Linked DNA regions of Homo sapiens: regions 2, 3, 4, 5 and 6 are each linked to region 1. The links are contacts of gene promoters, found by promoter capture Hi-C in blood cells and fetal thymus (Javierre and others, 2016). All regions are on one chromosome and are shown on one strand. The core of a region is centred on a gene start or on the middle of the fragment in contact, and the rest is flanking DNA. Distances in the headings are between cores, read along the strand shown. Region 1 holds the start of OBI1 (ORC ubiquitin ligase 1). Region 2 holds the start of NDFIP2 (Nedd4 family interacting protein 2). Region 3 overlaps RBM26-AS1 (RBM26 antisense RNA 1). Region 4 overlaps RBM26 (RNA binding motif protein 26). Region 5 has its middle 220 kb from the start of RBM26. Region 6 overlaps OBI1-AS1 (OBI1 antisense RNA 1).

What was found. Contacts are between HindIII fragments. The CHiCAGO score rates a contact against its expected background, and 5 or more counts as called.
Region 2: the fragment with the promoter of NDFIP2 here is called in contact with the fragment with the promoter of OBI1 in region 1 in 3 of 17 cell types (non-activated CD4 T cells, naive CD8 T cells and total CD8 T cells); the score reaches 5.8 in non-activated CD4 T cells.
Region 3: a contact is called between a fragment that was not itself captured here and the fragment with the promoter of OBI1 in region 1, in 7 of 17 cell types (non-activated CD4 T cells, naive CD8 T cells, total B cells and 4 more). The highest score is 8.1, in non-activated CD4 T cells.
Region 4: a fragment that was not itself captured here is called in contact with the fragment with the promoter of OBI1 in region 1 in 6 of 17 cell types (total B cells, naive CD8 T cells, naive B cells and 3 more); the score reaches 8.6 in total B cells.
Region 5: a fragment that was not itself captured here is called in contact with the fragment with the promoter of OBI1 in region 1 in 1 of 17 cell types (total B cells); the score reaches 5.1 in total B cells.
Region 6: a fragment that was not itself captured here is called in contact with the fragment with the promoter of OBI1 in region 1 in 1 of 17 cell types (M2 macrophages); the score reaches 6.7 in M2 macrophages.

What each region holds. Positions count from the first base shown.
Region 1 is chr13:78,657,782-78,660,507 of GRCh38, forward strand. OBI1 (ORC ubiquitin ligase 1) reads right to left here and starts at 1,374. Exons shown (of 6, transcript NM_024546.4): 1 at 1,268-1,374. The coding sequence starts at 1,339. RefSeq lists enhancers at 1-742, 653-732. The HindIII fragment of the contact is 7,616 bases long and covers 1-2,726 here.
Region 2 is chr13:79,479,752-79,482,477 of GRCh38, forward strand. NDFIP2 (Nedd4 family interacting protein 2) reads left to right here and starts at 1,404. Exons shown (of 8, transcript NM_019080.3): 1 at 1,404-1,773. The coding sequence starts at 1,453. It overlaps NDFIP2-AS1 (NDFIP2 antisense RNA 1), which reads right to left and starts at 1,480. Exons shown (of 3, transcript NR_046685.1): 1 at 1,401-1,480; 2 at 85-179. The HindIII fragment of the contact is 10,753 bases long and covers 1-2,726 here.
Region 3 is chr13:79,409,100-79,411,825 of GRCh38, forward strand. All of the region lies in intron 1 of RBM26-AS1 (RBM26 antisense RNA 1), which reads left to right. Among named protein-coding and RNA genes, the nearest start is that of RBM26-AS1, 4.2 kb to the left of the region's middle. The HindIII fragment of the contact is 5,354 bases long and covers 1-2,726 here.
Region 4 is chr13:79,331,355-79,334,080 of GRCh38, forward strand. The region is part of intron 20 of RBM26 (RNA binding motif protein 26); the gene reads right to left. Among named protein-coding and RNA genes, the nearest start is that of RBM26, 74 kb to the right of the region's middle. RefSeq lists an enhancer at 1-318. The HindIII fragment of the contact is 630 bases long and covers 1,105-1,734 here.
Region 5 is chr13:79,189,113-79,191,838 of GRCh38, forward strand. No RefSeq gene overlaps it. Among named protein-coding and RNA genes, the nearest start is that of RBM26, 220 kb to the right of the region's middle. RefSeq lists a silencer at 1,831-1,940. The HindIII fragment of the contact is 3,275 bases long and covers 1-2,726 here.
Region 6 is chr13:78,133,365-78,136,090 of GRCh38, forward strand. All of the region lies in intron 1 of OBI1-AS1 (OBI1 antisense RNA 1), which reads left to right. Among named protein-coding and RNA genes, the nearest start is that of OBI1-AS1, 80 kb to the left of the region's middle. The HindIII fragment of the contact is 1,738 bases long and covers 454-2,191 here.

The DNA.
Region 1 (2,726 bases), core at 124-2,623:
GAACTTTATGTCAGGAGCCAAATGTAGACTGTGGCAAATAGAAACATCGCTTCTTCCCTCCCCCTAGCCGTGCAGGCAGTAAGTAATAGCTCAATGCCAGCTCAAACACCATCCTCGATGAGGCCATCCTTGATCTCTCCAAATTGATCAAGCCATCCCCAATCCATGATCTCCCAGCACATTTGCTATTTCATTGGCATTTCATTCTGACTGCTATCCAGAATTATCAGTTGCTTCCAATGCTGACTTTCTTCTACTTTTTGAATCCAGTAAATTCACACAGAACTTCAAACACCCCAGGCAGATCGTATTGGCCGGCACTCAAATGCTTGCTCTAGAAGTTTGTATTTCTCAAATCTGAGTCTACGGCTCAGTCTGCGCTGGGGGGTAAACACACACCCTGACACACCACAGACGTAAAAATAATTCAGGGTGGAAAAAAGTTGGTGGTTTATCTTTCCCCTTCTTTATCTATTCGGTAAAGAAATGCTCTTTAAAACACCGAAAGTGAGGCACAAATGGAAATGAAAGAGGAGAGGAATGCATTAGAATATTCAAAGCTCCGTTTCTAATTCAGAACCACTTTCCCTACCTTGTTTCACAAACACACTAGGCACCTCTTGCATCACAAAGAGAGAGTATTCTATCTCCTGACTGACCCATTCTTGGAGTTAAAAGCCACACCTCTTATTCTAATACCCTCCAGGAGCACTTACTATTTACTTTTCAAATTAGGAATTCAGAGCAAAGGTCATCCTCAAGGCCAGGATAAAGGCAAAAGGTCTTGGAAATGGAAAAGACTCAATACACAGCACCGTAGGCCCCAGAGGATGAACACTAGTTACAGAGGACTAAGAAGCCCGAGGTGAGGCTCCCAGGAAATGTGTTTTAATGGGCTTCACTACACGCCACGCGAGGCTGCAGAGGGAAGTTAAATATCCCTGCGATGCGTTTCTGATGGGGCCTCCTTCGAGGCCGGTGTCTTGCCAGTGTGAGGCCGCGGGCGGTGGCAGGGCCGTCTCGCCGCCCTCCCGGCAGACCACGGGCCGCTGTCACCCTCCTCCGAAAGGCGCCCAGATGAATCCATTAATCACGGTGCGCTACCCCCATCTCCCAGGACGCGGCCTCCCATCAAGAACGCGGGTTAGCGTTTTCTCCCATCTCCGCGCCTCACGCCCCTTCCCCGCCCCCGCACGAGACGGCCCTCGGCCCCGGCGAGCGACTTATCCAACCCCGTTTTGTAGCTGTGCCCACAATCACCCATTACCTTCCCCAAGCAAATGTGGCACGTGATGGGCAGAGTGAGCGACAATGTAACATTCTGCACGGTCTGAGCCATGGCAGCGTTCAGAATCCCGCCAACACGGAAGTCCCGCCGACCTACCGCTACTCTTCGCCAAGACTGGGCACGCGCGGGCCGGCTACGGCGCCCCGGTAGGGCCATAACCCGCCCAGGAGAGAAAACGAAAACGCGCTTTCGAAACGCGCGATCTCCAAGGCGTTTTCCTTTCATTAAAAAAAAAAAAAAAAAAAAGAAAGAAAGAAAGAAAGAAAGAAAATTCACTGATTAGGGAGCTGCAAGATTCCTGCGAATGTGTAGGAAGGTAGTTTACTACAAGTATCGAGGATCTTGGAAAATCTAAAGGAAAGCGGAATAGTGGAGACAGAAGAGGAAGATACGGAAAGGCGATTTTTTAAATCCCCAAATTGTTTTCGGGGATTGGATGGGGTGAAGGATGGAGAGTTTTTCGCCTAATTATTAAACCCCACACATCCGCCAACACAGCGTAATCAAAACATAGAGAAAAGACATTATCTACACGTTTCAATTTTTTTCAAAACAGCTTTCCACCTCTGTCAGTTCTCTTTCCACTCAATATAATGTGCTTCCAGAGGGCACAATAATTCACTTAAGAAAACAGTGATTGTCTCCTTATCTGTGTCCGAGACGATCCTGATACATTTAATCGCAGCTTTCCCTGAAAATACATTTTTACTGTGGGCTTCTCTGGGTTTTCCACCAAAAGGAGATTAACGTTTTCACGTCTTCATTTCAGGTGCATGGTTGCATATGAAATGTACCGCTGTGTTGTTGAACCCCAAGGGAGAATTTGTGAGGTTATAAGTTGCGTTTCCTACCAACAAAAAAGAAAAAAACCTAAAAGTTCCTAAATTTATCTTAAATGCAGTATAACAAATTTGGAATTTATCTGCAACTTACTTGAAGCGAGGAAGAGCTGATGTGATAAATTACGCTAACAAGTAAAATCTGTGAGTTGAGAGATTTAAAGACAAGACCATCGGGACAACTTTTACTAATCTTTGTGAAAAAGACGCAGTATGACTTCAAGAAGCAGCCTCATGGTTAAGAGAAAGGGGTTCTGGACCTGGGCTGCTTCAGCGGAAATCCCTGCCCCCAACAACTTCCTACCTAAACGGTAGCTCCATGGCTTCTGGCAACTTTTGTTTTGTTTTTTGAGATAGGGTCTAGCTCTGTCACCACTAGGTGCCAACACAGCGACCTCCCAGGCTCAAGCGATCCCATCCGCCTGCCTCAGCCAGCCTCCCGAGTAGCTGGGATTACAGTCATGCGCCACCATGCTTGGCTAATTTTTGTATTTTTAGTAAAGACGGAGTTTCACCCTGTTGGTCAGGCTGGTCTCCAACTCCTGACCTCAAGTGATCCGCCTGCCTCGAGGGTCGGGGAGTGGTTTCCCCATGTTGCC
Region 2 (2,726 bases), core at 154-2,653, 820 kb after region 1:
GGCTTACATTTTTTAGTTGTCAATCTCTCAAAGAGTTTCTGTTTTTATTCTATCTTGCTATTTTAACCAGTTGATTAGGCTCACCCAGTGGCAGTCTTCATTTCAAGGATCTCCTCTGGACATTCATGAAGGAAATAAATGGGGCTCCAGATCCCTTTCCTTCCCTTCAGGGCGCTCCACTGTAAGATCATTTAGGGAAAATGTGGTGTTATGTTAAAAACATAGCTGGGCCACATCAAGCAGCATCATAGTTTTTAGGGTATAGAACGTTGGTCTTCAGGTTAAAAGGTACTTTTCGCTGCTCTGTCATACTCTTCTACTTGCTAGAGAAATATGCTTTATGCCGTGTCATGTGTGGTTAACCAGACAGTGAGATACTACTAACAGTGCTCCCAAGTGATTCCTTGCTGTTAAATCAATTGGAATTATTGAGTATTACCACAAAATAATCCTATCTGATTTCATTACTTTCTTCTAACGTCCTTCCAGTAACCTAGAACTCTAGAGACCTCTTTCTTTGAGAGTTGTCTGGAGAGTCCGTTGGATTTTTAAATCTCTTATTACCAAAAAGTGGAAAAAAGAGTTTAAAAAGTAACCAAAGAGCTAGTGCCTGTAGTCTCAGCTACTCCAGAGGCTGAGGCAGGTGGATAGCTTGGGCCGAGGAGTTCGAGGCTACAGTGAGCCATGACTGCGCCTGCTAACAGCCACTGCACTCCAGTCTGGGCAATATAGTGAGACCCCATCTCTAAAAAAACAACAAACAAAAACAAAAATTACCCCACAGAAGAATTTCAGGGCAGTGGAAATACTCTGTAGGATACTATAATGATGGATACCTGCCATTACACATTTGTTCTAACTCGAGGAGTATACAACAACCTGAGTGAACCCTGAGGTAACTATGGACTTTGAGTGATGATGAGGTGTCAATGCAGGTTCATCAGTCGTAACACATGTACCACTCTGAGGGGGGATGTTGATAATGGTGGGGGGTTATGCATGCGTAGGAGCCAAGTGTATATGGGATATCTCTGTAACTTCTCAATTTTTCTGTAAACTCTAACTACTCTATATTAGTCTTTAAAAAATCGCTTATCTTACGAATGATTTTGAATAAGCGTTTTGGGAATGTTCTAGAGATGAATCTCCTCCCCATGTCCTACGCTGGGTGAGGAAGTGTCGGGTACCCGGGCGACCTGTCCTCAGGTGTTCTAGGAACGCGGCCCCATCCCTTGTCAGCCTCTGTCTCTGTGTGGTGAGAAGGCGCACTGGCTCGTGCCTGCGCGAAACTCGCGCACACAGAAAAGACCAATCAAGGACGGGTCATTCCCGCCCCCCGCGCGCCTTTTGCGACCGCCCACTCGACAGGTTGACAACCTAGACAGCTCCCCCGGACTTGCCTTACTTTTCCATCTCCTCCCACCCAGCTATACCCTCCCACTGGCGGCGCGGATGGCACGCCGGCGGAGCCAGCGAGTCTGCGCGAGCGGTCCGAGCATGCTCAATAGCGCGCGCGGCGCCCCGGAGCTTCTCCGCGGAACCGCGACCAACGCGGAGGTCTCGGCGGCCGCTGCGGGAGCCACAGGAAGTGAAGAGCTTCCGCCGGGAGACCGCGGCTGCAGGAACGGAGGCGGAAGGGGCCCTGCGGCGACGACGTCGTCGACGGGGGTGGCCGTGGGAGCTGAGCACGGAGAAGACTCCCTCTCTCGGAAGCCGGATCCCGAGCCGGGCAGGATGGATCACCACCAGCCGGGGACTGGGCGCTACCAGGTGGTGAGTTCCCGGCCTCCTGTGCCTCCCGGGACTGCCTCCCGCCGCGGCGTCCCGAGAGTCCCTTTCCTCAGGTTATTCCCGGAGGAAAAGCTGTGGCTTTTTTTTGTTGTGTTTTGTTTTGTTTTTTTGGATCTTCTGGCTGGAGCTGCTTCACTCGCCTCACCTGCGCACTCCTGCCTAGGACTCCTTCGAAACCCTTCTCTCTCGCCCCAAGTCTGCTTAGCTCCTCACCCGCACCCTTAGCCCCGCTGTGAGACGCCCTCCCTCCACACACCTTACAACTTGTATCCGTTTTAATTTCTCACTTTATCATTTTCTTATTCTCTGACTCAGTCACTCCTGAGACATTCTAGTCGATTGTCTACTGGAAATGGGGCTGACTTCACATACCTGCCCGGAAGGTGATCGCCGTCATAAATGGGGTGGGTGAGTAGGTGGGTGGAGGTGTAAGTACTGCGTGGGGTGGGATGTGGATTTGGCAAAAATGTGGGTTAGGAATTGTGGAACTGTAGAGAAAGACTAGCCATAATGCTGATCTTGTCTCTCTGCTCGTTAACCTTGTCATTTTGTCCTTTTCCATTATGTTAGTATTAAAAATGACTGTATTTTTTGGTAATCCCCACTTTTTCTTTCTTTCTTTCTTTCTTTTTTTTTTTTTTTTTTTTTTTTTTGGTTAGAGGGGAAACAGAGGTAGTTTTAGTAGAACAAATTCTAATCTTGTTTGAAAAATTATTTTTCGTTAAATACAAGGTTTTCCAGCTTAACTGTGTAAACTTTGGTAACTATGTTGAAAAAAGTGAAATGTGTTCCTCTATATTTTCAGTGTCAATTTTTAAATATATTTTTCTTTGTGTATTCTGGTGGTGACGTTGGAGATTCCTGTTGTAAACCTTAGTTAAAGATGGACTGAGCAATAGTTGACTCTGCTGTTGTGCTGTTGCAGCTAGGTAGCA
Region 3 (2,726 bases), core at 97-2,596, 750 kb after region 1:
TTGTTTTATGTGTGTTTCTTTTTAAAGGCACCTTATGTAGGAAAAAAAAAAATTTTTAAGGCACCTTATTTAATATAGTTGATTCATTAACATTGAACTCACAGCCAGTGGCACTATAACTCATGCTTACCTGGCGTATGTATTTTCTCTTTAAAAAGAAAGAAGAGCCTTCTGGCACTTAGGGACCCAGATAGCCTCATCACTACACTTGGGGGGCATTTTAAACAGTGAAATCACAAAAAGGTCAAAAATGCAACAAATGTGGCCTTAAATAGACCATGAAAAGGACACTTGTTTCCAGTGTGAGAGCTAAAACAGGAAGGCAGAGCATCCCCTTGTTTCACCAAAGCTGGGAACATGTGCATCAGGTGACTCAAATTTTTTTGCCTCTGTTCATGTCGACAGATGACTGCAAAAGCATTCCAAGTATTGATTTGGGCATTGCAAATAAATTTTAGCAAGTAGGCAAACTCACAAATACAGAATCTGTAAGTAATAAGGATTAACTATATTTTTTGAATGACCAAAGGAAGCCGTACCACTTCCATGAAACCTTTCCTGGCCACTGTGGCTGATAGCAGTATCTTCCTCCTCTAAATTTATGGTACAGTGCTTATTATCACTTCACAGTTAGTCATTTTTGCTTCCTAGAATGCTTCTCTTCCTTAACCATTAACATTTATCCTTCATTTATCCCTGCTTCATCTTCTTTGGCCCTGCCTTCAAAGGCGACAATTAGCTGATGTAATCATCAATTCTACTAAGAGAAGACTAAACAGCTGCTGTGGACTACTTTCTCTATTCAGTAACATGTACATTTTGGAATGTCCAGTATCAGGTTGCCTGCTTAACGTTTTCCAATACACCATGTTCTTTCAAGGCCATGTGACTTTATTAGCACTGTTCCTTTTGCCAGAATGATTTTCCTTATTGCTCAAATGTCAGTACCTCAATGATACCCTGGACAAAGGTCTAGCTCCCTACCTGTAGAACAGGAGTTAAAACATTTACTGGGAAGAGATTGTGAGGACAGATAAAAATAAAACATTTTATTTAGTTTTCTCATCTTTCTCGGCCTTGTGAGCTCTTTTAAGGACTGGACTCAAGTTTATTCCTCTTTCTACGTCCTGCACTTAACTCAGTGTCTGAAACTCAAAAAATGTTTATTGAAGACACATGCTTCGTTTTAAATAGGAAGGAAGCAGAGGCAGGAGAAAATATTTTAGATAGGCAAGAGAATGATATGCCCTCTAACAGATCTGTATTTCTTTATGGTTTATTACCATAAGTTGCCTTCATCTTTTAGCTGCACCAATCCCAGGAATATTCTCTATAGTGTGCTGAACTCCTCCTCAGGTTTTTCCAGCTCTCTCCTCTAGTTGAATACAGTCTTACTACTCTCAATAGTGCTTTTGAAGTCTTGTTTAAAAACAGTCAGCATTTCCGGATCAAAAAGAGATTCTGTATTTTCTTCTATTTCTTTTGCAGTCCATTACTCTACTTAGAATCACACTTAAGTATTTATTCTCTCTGTAATACATCCCTGTTTGTGGTGTAAAGTGAGGATCTAGGCCATTTTTTTTTTCTATAAGTCTACTCACTCAGTTTATTCTTTCCTGTTGATTTTTTTCTTTTTTTTTTTTTTTTTTTCCTGGGACAGAGTCTGACACCATCTCCAATGCTGGAGTGCAGTGGCGCAATCTTGGCTCACTGCAACCTCTGCCTCCCAGGTTCAAGCAGTTCTACCTCAGCCTCCCAAGTAGCTGGGACTATAGGTGTGCACCACCATGCCCATCTAATTAGAGAGGGCGTTTCACCATGTTGGCCATGCTATTCTTGAACTCCTGGCCTCAAGTGATCGGCCCGCCTCGGCCTCCTAAAGTGTTGGGATTACAGGCGTGAGCCACCGTGCCTAGCTTCCTTCCTGTTTGATTTTTGATGCCACTTATATCTTTCTGTTTTCATTTCATTTGTGTTCTGCTTCTGACCTATTTTTCAATTGGTCAGCTTGTCTGTGACTACTCCAGTACTATGTTGCTTTTATTTACTATTGTATTATAGAATATCTTAATATATAATAAGGCAAATCCCTCTTCTTTGCTCTTTTTCAAATTTAGCTTGGCTAAATATGAATCTTGGTCTGGCACAGTGGCTCACACCTATAACCCCAGCACTTTGGGAGGCCGAGGCAGGCGGATCACTTGAGGTCAGGAGTTCAAGACCGGCCTGGCCAACATGGTGAAACCCCATCTCTACTAAAAATACAAAAATTAGCCAGGTGTGTTGGCACACACCTGTAGTACCCAGCCCAGAGGCTGAGGTGGGAGAATCGCTTGAACCTGGGAAGTGGAGTTGTCGGTGAGCCGAGATTGAGCCACTGTACTCCAGCCTTGGCGACAGAGTGAAACTACGTCTAAATAAATAAATAAATAAATAAATAAATAAATAAATGTGAACCTTTAGTTTCCAAATACATAGAACAAGATTGTTGAACTTGTAAACAAAAAATTCTTCATCATTGAAGTTATGGATTAATTTGGATTGAATTGACATCCTACAGTGTATAGCAGTCACAGAGGTGTGCAGCTCAGATCTCCCTTCAAGAAAGGACTCACTGCCCAACTGCAAGGAGGATAGTTACCTGACAGCTTCCAGTTGTTAACTCTTTCTAGGTTCACCTCAGCTTTCAAGTTGAAGTTACACTGTTCTCAGGGAAAACCCTCTCC
Region 4 (2,726 bases), core at 170-2,669, 670 kb after region 1:
TCATGCCTGTAACCCCAGCACTTTGGGATGCTGAGGCAGGTGGATCACGAGGTCAGGAGATCGAGACCATCCTGGCTAACATGGTGAAACCCTGTCTCTACTAAAAATACAAAAAAAAAAAAAAAAAAAATTAACTGGGCGTGGTGGCAGGCACCTCTAGTCCCAGCTACTCGGGAGGCTGAGGCAGGAGAATGGCATGAAGCCAAGAGAGGCGGAGCTTGCAGTGAGCTGAGATCACACCACTGCACTCCAGCCTGGGCAACACAGCGAGACTCCGCCTCAAAAAAAAAAAAAAATTGTACCTCTGTGAGTTTGGGACTATAGGTTTCATTTTTGTTCTGATTCTTCTAAAACAGCAACTTAATTATTCCTATTCTGAACAGGATCTTGGGCTCCTACAAAGGTACAGTAACAATTCAGTGCAGAAAAGATAATATTCAAATCAGTCATGGAAGAGACGACTGCTTTACTCTTGTCTGAGTACTTATCCAACTTTAGTACTTTGGCATGGTGATAGACAAAAAAATAGAAAATAAGGTAATAGGAACCATCTTCTAGGTAACAAGGCAGAGTCAAACCATAAACCATCTTAACCTAAAGCTAACAGTGTTCTGCTTATACTGATGGTCTTTAAAATGCTTCAATATTTTTCCTGAGGAAAACTTCTCACTTTTCAGTTATATCTGAATGTCTCAATTACCTTATTTATTCTTGTACTTTCATCTTGAAATACTATGCATCTATTGATTATAGAAAATAAATTCATTCAGTCATCTAGGATAATGGTCCAGAAAACAAGAACAATGTAATGTTTGACAGTAAACATTGGCAAGGGCTGACAGTTTTTTCTTGGGAAGGCCTATCCTTTACTGCGAGTTCATGTTCTCCTACATTTTCAGTGTTAAAATTTCCTTTATTTTATATAACAATGGTGATAGAACATGACAATCTTTTTGTATTTTTAAAGTATTCTTCCCTGGCAAAATAAAAAGTTGATACCTCTATGACAAACACACAAATTTTTAAATTCCTAAACTTTACTGTTCCCTGAAATCCAAAAGTTTGAAGACCACTGCTCTATATGTATCCTGCTTGTATAAGATAAGCTTCAACTTAATTTTCTATTCTTTTCAACATTACAAAATTTTAAGAAACTTTCTGGCTTAAGGATATGCTTATGCTTTAACAACTTTTGTAACTAAAAATCTAAACATTTATCATAGCAGTGGTCATTACTCTTTTTAGTCTATTAAGTAAATCCAACTAAAGCTATTTCCTCTAAATAGGTAATTCTCATTAGACCTAACTTGGCCTTAGTTATTCTGTCACTTATTCAACCTTCATGTAATTCAGTGCTAAAGTCTTCCTTATACATTAATCCCTGGTATTTTTTATTGTTATTAATTTTGAAAAATACATTGTATACACGCCTAAGGTACAAAAAGCAAGACCCAAGAAAGAAGGTACGTGTCAAAAGTCTTTCCGCGAGCAAAATTTCCAAAAATTATTTAAGAAGAGGTTTTAATTTTTTCTCAGCCATATAAGCAAGCAAGGGAAGTAGTACATATTTAAAGTTCTTAATAAATCCACAAATTTGGCAATATCTGAACCATTTGTACAGTAACAACTATCATTATTTTATAATACCACTATTCCCTAGAAAATACATAAAACATAAAACTACCTATCTAGCAAGAGACTAAAAATTATCAACTGAAGCCACCACTGAAAGGAAGCTTACTCTAAACTTGCACTTAACAATACCCTGGAGAGAACATTTAATCAAAGATCTACCTTTTTCAATATAACATACACACATACAAGCTTATGAGTTTTAAAATCTCATCAATTTTAAATTACTTTTTACTTTCACAAAAGAACATTAAAGAAATGATTATTCAAAGCTAGCTTTAAAAAGAGAACACCCTAAGATCAGGAATTCCTATTTTATAAAATAATATACTACCCCCTACCTCTACCCCCAAAACTAGATTTTTTCAAGGCTCCAGTTGAATGACTTATCAGACCCATAGTCTTATGGTTACAATGCCCCAAGGGCAACTTCTACCAGGTAAGCAATGTACCACTGTGCTGGCAGAGAACATTCACTACAAAGAGGATAAATAAATGTAGAGGTTTTTTCAAAACTTATTTAAGTTGAAATCAACTTAAAACTTCTGAAAAGCATCTCACTCTTTCATTGCTTTCATTTGGAAAACTATTTCATCCCTGGAACAATGGCAAGGACAAAACAGTGACACTGTCTTCTCTACAATTCCTGAAGAAAGAACACACAGGGCAAAAAAGGCTCCTATGAATCCCCTACACCTCACTCCCATTTTCCTTTTTTTTTAATCTTTGAAACCCAAATGAAAGACAAGGTTGCAGATATTCCGGTCAGTCCTTGGAAAGACAATTCAAGATTGATAGTTTAAGGTAACTTTACTAAGAGTACCCTCAAAGTTAGAGGTATAGACCATGTCTTAGGCAAAAAGTCATAGAAGTCTAGTTGGGGCTATGCTGAACTAGGGACACTTCTTTTAGAGTTCAACCTGATGAGACCAGGAAGCAGTAGATGAGGAATGGCTAAGATGGGCAGACATTAGAACTGCTTGTACCTTATCCCTCACCACTCATTCTGCCAAAGCAGATCCTGTTTTGGGTCAGCTGAAAAAAAAGAATAATGGGTAGTGGAGTGGCCCTATCTACTATGAAAAAGAAAGAAA
Region 5 (2,726 bases), core at 65-2,564, 530 kb after region 1:
GACTACAGGCATATGCCACCATGCCCAGCTAATTTTTGGTTTTGTTAATTGTTTGTTTTTGTTTGTTTGTTTGTTTTTTGTTTTCGCCATGTTGCCCAGGCTGGTCTCGACCTCCTAGGGTCAAGCAACCCATCCACCTTGGCCTCCCAAAGTCAAAATATGCTCTTACCAAGTCGAATTTCTCCTTGGTAGGCAGGACACTGCCAAACTTACCTTTTATGCTTTTTCCTTCTTCCATGTTTTCTCTCATCACAACTTTTTTATTTATCACCTTCTAAACAACACATCTTCAAATGATTCCTATTATCATAGAGCCACCACTTTTGTTTATACAAAATATAAGCATTCCCCCTCTTTAAGTTTCAGGATCCTTTAAGAAGAGATTTTAAAGAACCAATTAAACATGCTATAACTGAAAATGTTTCAAAATGAAATTCTAAGCATTGTCCAAATGAACTACATCCCAAACTTTCACAAAACACAGTAGACTACAAACCATCTCCTCTCTCCTTATATTGGTCTTTGTTTATAAGATTACTAGTATAGAACCTTACACAGAGTAGAAACAACCTCTATACATTGTATAAATATGGGCAAATTAGCCAAACCTCAAGGTTCTAAGGCCTTTGGTTCATTTGTTTCATATAGCCCATGGACCCAAAGTGGTGGGACTGATTTCCACAGAGAAATCTATCACAGGACAGCAACATACATTGTTCTCTTCCATTCTTGAATTTGACAAATGTAAGTAATGTTATAACTGACTCTTTCTAGAATTAACAGTGACATTTTTTGTTTATAAATTAAATTACAGCCAGACACAGTGACTCATGCCTGTAATCCCAGCACTTTGGGAGGCCGAGGTGGGCAGATCTCTTGAGCTTAGAAGTTGAAGACTAGCCTGGACAACATGGTGAAACCCCACCTCTACAAAAGATTTTTTAAAAATAGCTGGGTATGATGGTGTGCATCTGTGGTCCTAGCTACTTAGGAGGCTGAGGTGGGAGGATGGCTTGAACCCAGGAGGTGGAGGTTGCAGTGAGCTGAGATATTGCCACTGCACTCCAGCCTTGGCAACAGAGACAGACCCTGTCTTCAAAAAAATAATAATAAATAAAAACAAATTAATTAAATCACTTTGCCTTTAGTTAACTTACCATAATCCTTTGTTAATCAATATATAAATTCTCATTAGTCTTCTCTATAATTTCCTTACATTTACATTGGTTTCTAAGTTTGGATAACTTTAGAAGGCTATTTGTGAGGGTATTAATTGATATTATTGGAGAGTAGCAGAAGAGACCCTGCTGCTTTAAAATATGAAACACAGGGAAGATCACCTGGTTTGTAAATGATCAATGCTAAGTCATTTGTGAATTTTGGCAAAGGTGGTTTAATTTACTCTAACATTTTACTTATTTAACAAAGTCCTCATGCAGTGCTCACTGTCTGCCAGGCACTGCTCTGTGTGCTTAATCAATATGTACCATCTATGCAGAAGTTACTTTTTAAAAGTATGATGTTGAAACTATCAGTATTCTTTCCTTTGAAAGATGAGTGACAACAACAGCAAAAAACTATATTCAGCCGCTTTGTTGTGTCATGAGCAAAACAGAAAACAAATTAGCATCGATGGCATTGGCTTTCATGTAGATTAGAATACCCTCTCCTGGTATTCTTACGTATTCATAGCATTGTAACAACTGATGGTTTTTAAATTTCTCTACAAATCAATCCAGATTATGAAATCTGATGATCAGAACACCTAATTGTCACCAATCCAAATTTACCTACTGGAAAAAAGTGTTTTTTTCATTATATTTCTATCTTACATTGATTTTCTTTCCTGTTGAGAACCAAATTTCAAGCATTTACAGACTCCAGGTGGTTCACACCTCCTAGAAAGATTTCTCTAGAGAGCCATTTACTTCATTTTTTCAGTTCCTGCAGTGCCAGTAAACCTCGCAGAGGAAATGTTATGTAGAGGGAAGTGAACAACAAGGGAGGTGACTCCCTAAAACAAATGCAATAATAATTCAACACACTCCAGCCACACTGCAATGCAGAAACCAAGTAAACAAGCCATTGCTTTCGCATTCACTGTGCTAAGATGTGAGCATATCTGCATTATACCTGACAGAATCAACCTCTGAACAGCAGAGAGCTCAATGGTGCCAAAGCAGAAGTTGGCAATAGCACCAACAACTCTAGCACTTCTTGTTCCTATCCTCTTCTGTATAGTGCTTCAAGAAATAGGTCCCACCATAAGAAAAACAACAACAACAACTAAAGATGAGACTTCTGCAATCAAAGAGGGATAGAGTTAGGCTTGTCACACTTATGAGGAAGTTCAAAGCCGAAAACACAGGGCAAAACAAAGTTAAAGATAAAAGAACTGAAAGGCAATGCCATCTATGCTGATACTGAATTCCATTTTAGAAAAAGAAGAAATTAAGTGGAGGAACTTGTTGGAAGGGAATGCTCTGCTCTTCTTTATTTCTTATGTTTTCTTCCTATGAAACAAACATGTTAGTGTCACTCCAGCCTCTCCCTGCCCCCTTCCTCACTGCAGTCTGGGGGAAGAGGAGTGGCATGTGTGCTTGCTAAATTTGGAGAAGAATTTGGGAACTTATCTGGCCTATGCCAGTCAAGTGACACCAAAATGTGGGAGTGAGGAGCAAGTCTGTCCAGTTCTAGGTTCAAAATCAACAAGCTCACTAGAGTAA
Region 6 (2,726 bases), core at 73-2,572, 520 kb before region 1:
TCATTAATGCCAGGGACTTTTCGGAGTCCCAGTCATATCCCCTTACGGAGATAGTTTATCCATAGTGTGTAGATCTGCAATAGTATAGGATTTACTGCCAAGTTCTTTCTCCAATTCATTCCCTACAGTAGAGGTCTACTCTGATTGGTCGAGTAGTTTAATCCCTATCCATATACCTTGTTATATTAGGAGTATTTGCTATTGTCTGTGTATGTGGAGATTTTTGAAGCTAAAATTTTTCCCCACCCTTCCAGAAGAAGCACAGTGAAGAGCTGCCCCTGTATTCAGGGTGCCTGATTCTTTCATGCTCCGGGGCATATTGTTATCACCAGCTGCAGTCAGGGGAAAGAAAAAATCTCCGTCCCTCTTATGTAATATAGTACAATTAGGCACATAATGTAGATTTTATGCTTTTCTCTGAAACATCTGGCATGTACTGCTTACCAAAACCAAAGCTTGGAGAGCCAGACCTCCTGTAGCATTTTAATATCAATGTGTCTTTTGACATAGTAGTTATCTAATGTTTGTGCCAGTTTTTGAAAACATCACATCTTAAATATCACCTCTTGAATGAGTGTAAATTCAAAATGCCTGCCAGGGGGTTATGTGTTTGTGGGAGGAACTAATATCTACCCTAATCTAAATACCAAATGAATTTTAGATTGTCATTCTAACCCAACATTAGCATTGGCCCTTGGGAAAATCATTGTTTATGTATTCTTTTCAGATACTCAGAATTAAGAGTCAATCTATTTAAACCTTGTTGCTAATATTACATCTATATTTCTGACATACTAGGAAAATGTGTACAGGGTTTTTACATTTGTCTACAGACAAAAAGTTACCAATAAAAAATTTTAACAAATTATCTTCAAATTCTCTAGAAAAAAAGATCAAGTCACTTGGTGGAAAAGATAAAATATCCTGAGATCCTTGTGAACAAAAACGTCTCTCACTGAGATCCATGATCTTCTTGTGGCAGGGCAATAGGGGTTAAAGTACCATTTCCAGCAAAACGTACTGCTCTAGCTTGTCAAGCCACCTTCAAAACATTCTGTGTTCCCATAAAATCCACATTGGAATAAATAAAACTTAAAAAAGAAACACAAGTGACATAAAAGTAAAACAAAGAATAAAATGAGGAAGAAAAAATTTATGTGGTTCATATATTCAGAGATTTTAGCAACATAATAAAATGTTGATAAAACATTTACACCTGTAGCTGCAAAATGGTTTGTATTCATTTACAAACCATTATTATTTGGCATTAGTCAGGATTCCATTAATTATGTTGAAATTTTAAAAGTAAATTATGGAACTGTTAGAACTACAGACAATGTGAGTGGACTCTAACATATTACAACATTAAAATGAAAAGTGTCATAAGTTACATAGACAATTTTTTTTTTTTTTTTAGAGGCAGGGTTCTGTTCTGTCACCCAGGCTGGAGTGCAGTGGCACAATCATGGCTCACTGTGGCCTTGAACACCTGGACTCAAGGGATCCTCCCACCTAGCCTCAGGAGTAGCTAGGACTACAGGTGCAAGCCACGACGCCCAGCTAAAATTTGTATTTTTATTTTTTGTAGAGACAAGGTCTCGCCATGTTGCCCAGGCTGGTCTTGAACTTCTGGGCTCCAGTCATCCTCCTACCTCGACCTCCCAAAGTGCTGGGAGTATAGGCATGCATCACCCTACCCAGCTAATAACTGTTCATTCCAGATAGTCACCTTAAGGTTTATTAATAAGTTTAACAAGGAGATTATCTGGATACTTATTTTACTTTGGAGTGTTGAGTTGACTCTGAACAGTACACAGTGCCTTGGTGCCATTTTGCTAGAGGTTTTGCAGAGACCTTAGGATGTTGTTCTTGAACTCTTAGGGCCTAGTTTTCTCAATTAAAAGAGTTGGTTACTGCAAATGGTTTCTAAGGTAGTTTTCAGATCTAAAATATTGAGTTCATGGATTTCAATATAATACTCTACAGCTCTCTACAACTGCGTGGTGAGTGCCTTGTTGTAAGAATGTTAAGTGAGTTATTTCTACATTTCGGTATTTTTATATTATAATGATTCTTAATAAGTATAAATTATCAGTGGCCACAACACTTACTATAAAACATGTTCAAAACAGATGGTAGTGCTGGATGTCTCTAAGTAAAAGAACAGATGGAGCAGGAGTTTAACCCTGGAAGCTTTGAAGGGTTTGAATGACAGAACTTATTTTTTACTCTAATTTAGGGAGAATTTGGTGTGAGGATGTGGTATACTATTTCAGCTATATGAAACAGTATACATAGACAGGAAAATACTTGAGTTCCAGCAATATGGCAGACTGACGCAATGTGAGCCACTTTCCACTAAAACTTGTGAAATGCTATATAAAATATAACAATATTGCTTTAGTAAAAATCTAAAGATGAGTTAGAAGGAGAATGTCTAGTTGCAGAGTCAAGGAGGTTAACCATAGGCAGAATGTAAGTGTATGAATTAGGGCTCTGGTTCTTGGGATATTGATAATCAAATATACATCCAACAGGGAAGCCATGCCATGAGGCCCAAGACATAAAGTTAGGCCTGGAAGGGTTGCCCCTTTTTTCTTTTCTTTTCTTTTCTTTTCTTTTCTTTTTCTTTTCTTTTCTTTTCTTTTTTCTTTTCTTTTCTTTTCTTTTCTTTCCTTTCTTTCCTTTCCTTTTCCTTCCTTCCTTCCTTCCTTCCTTCCTTCCTT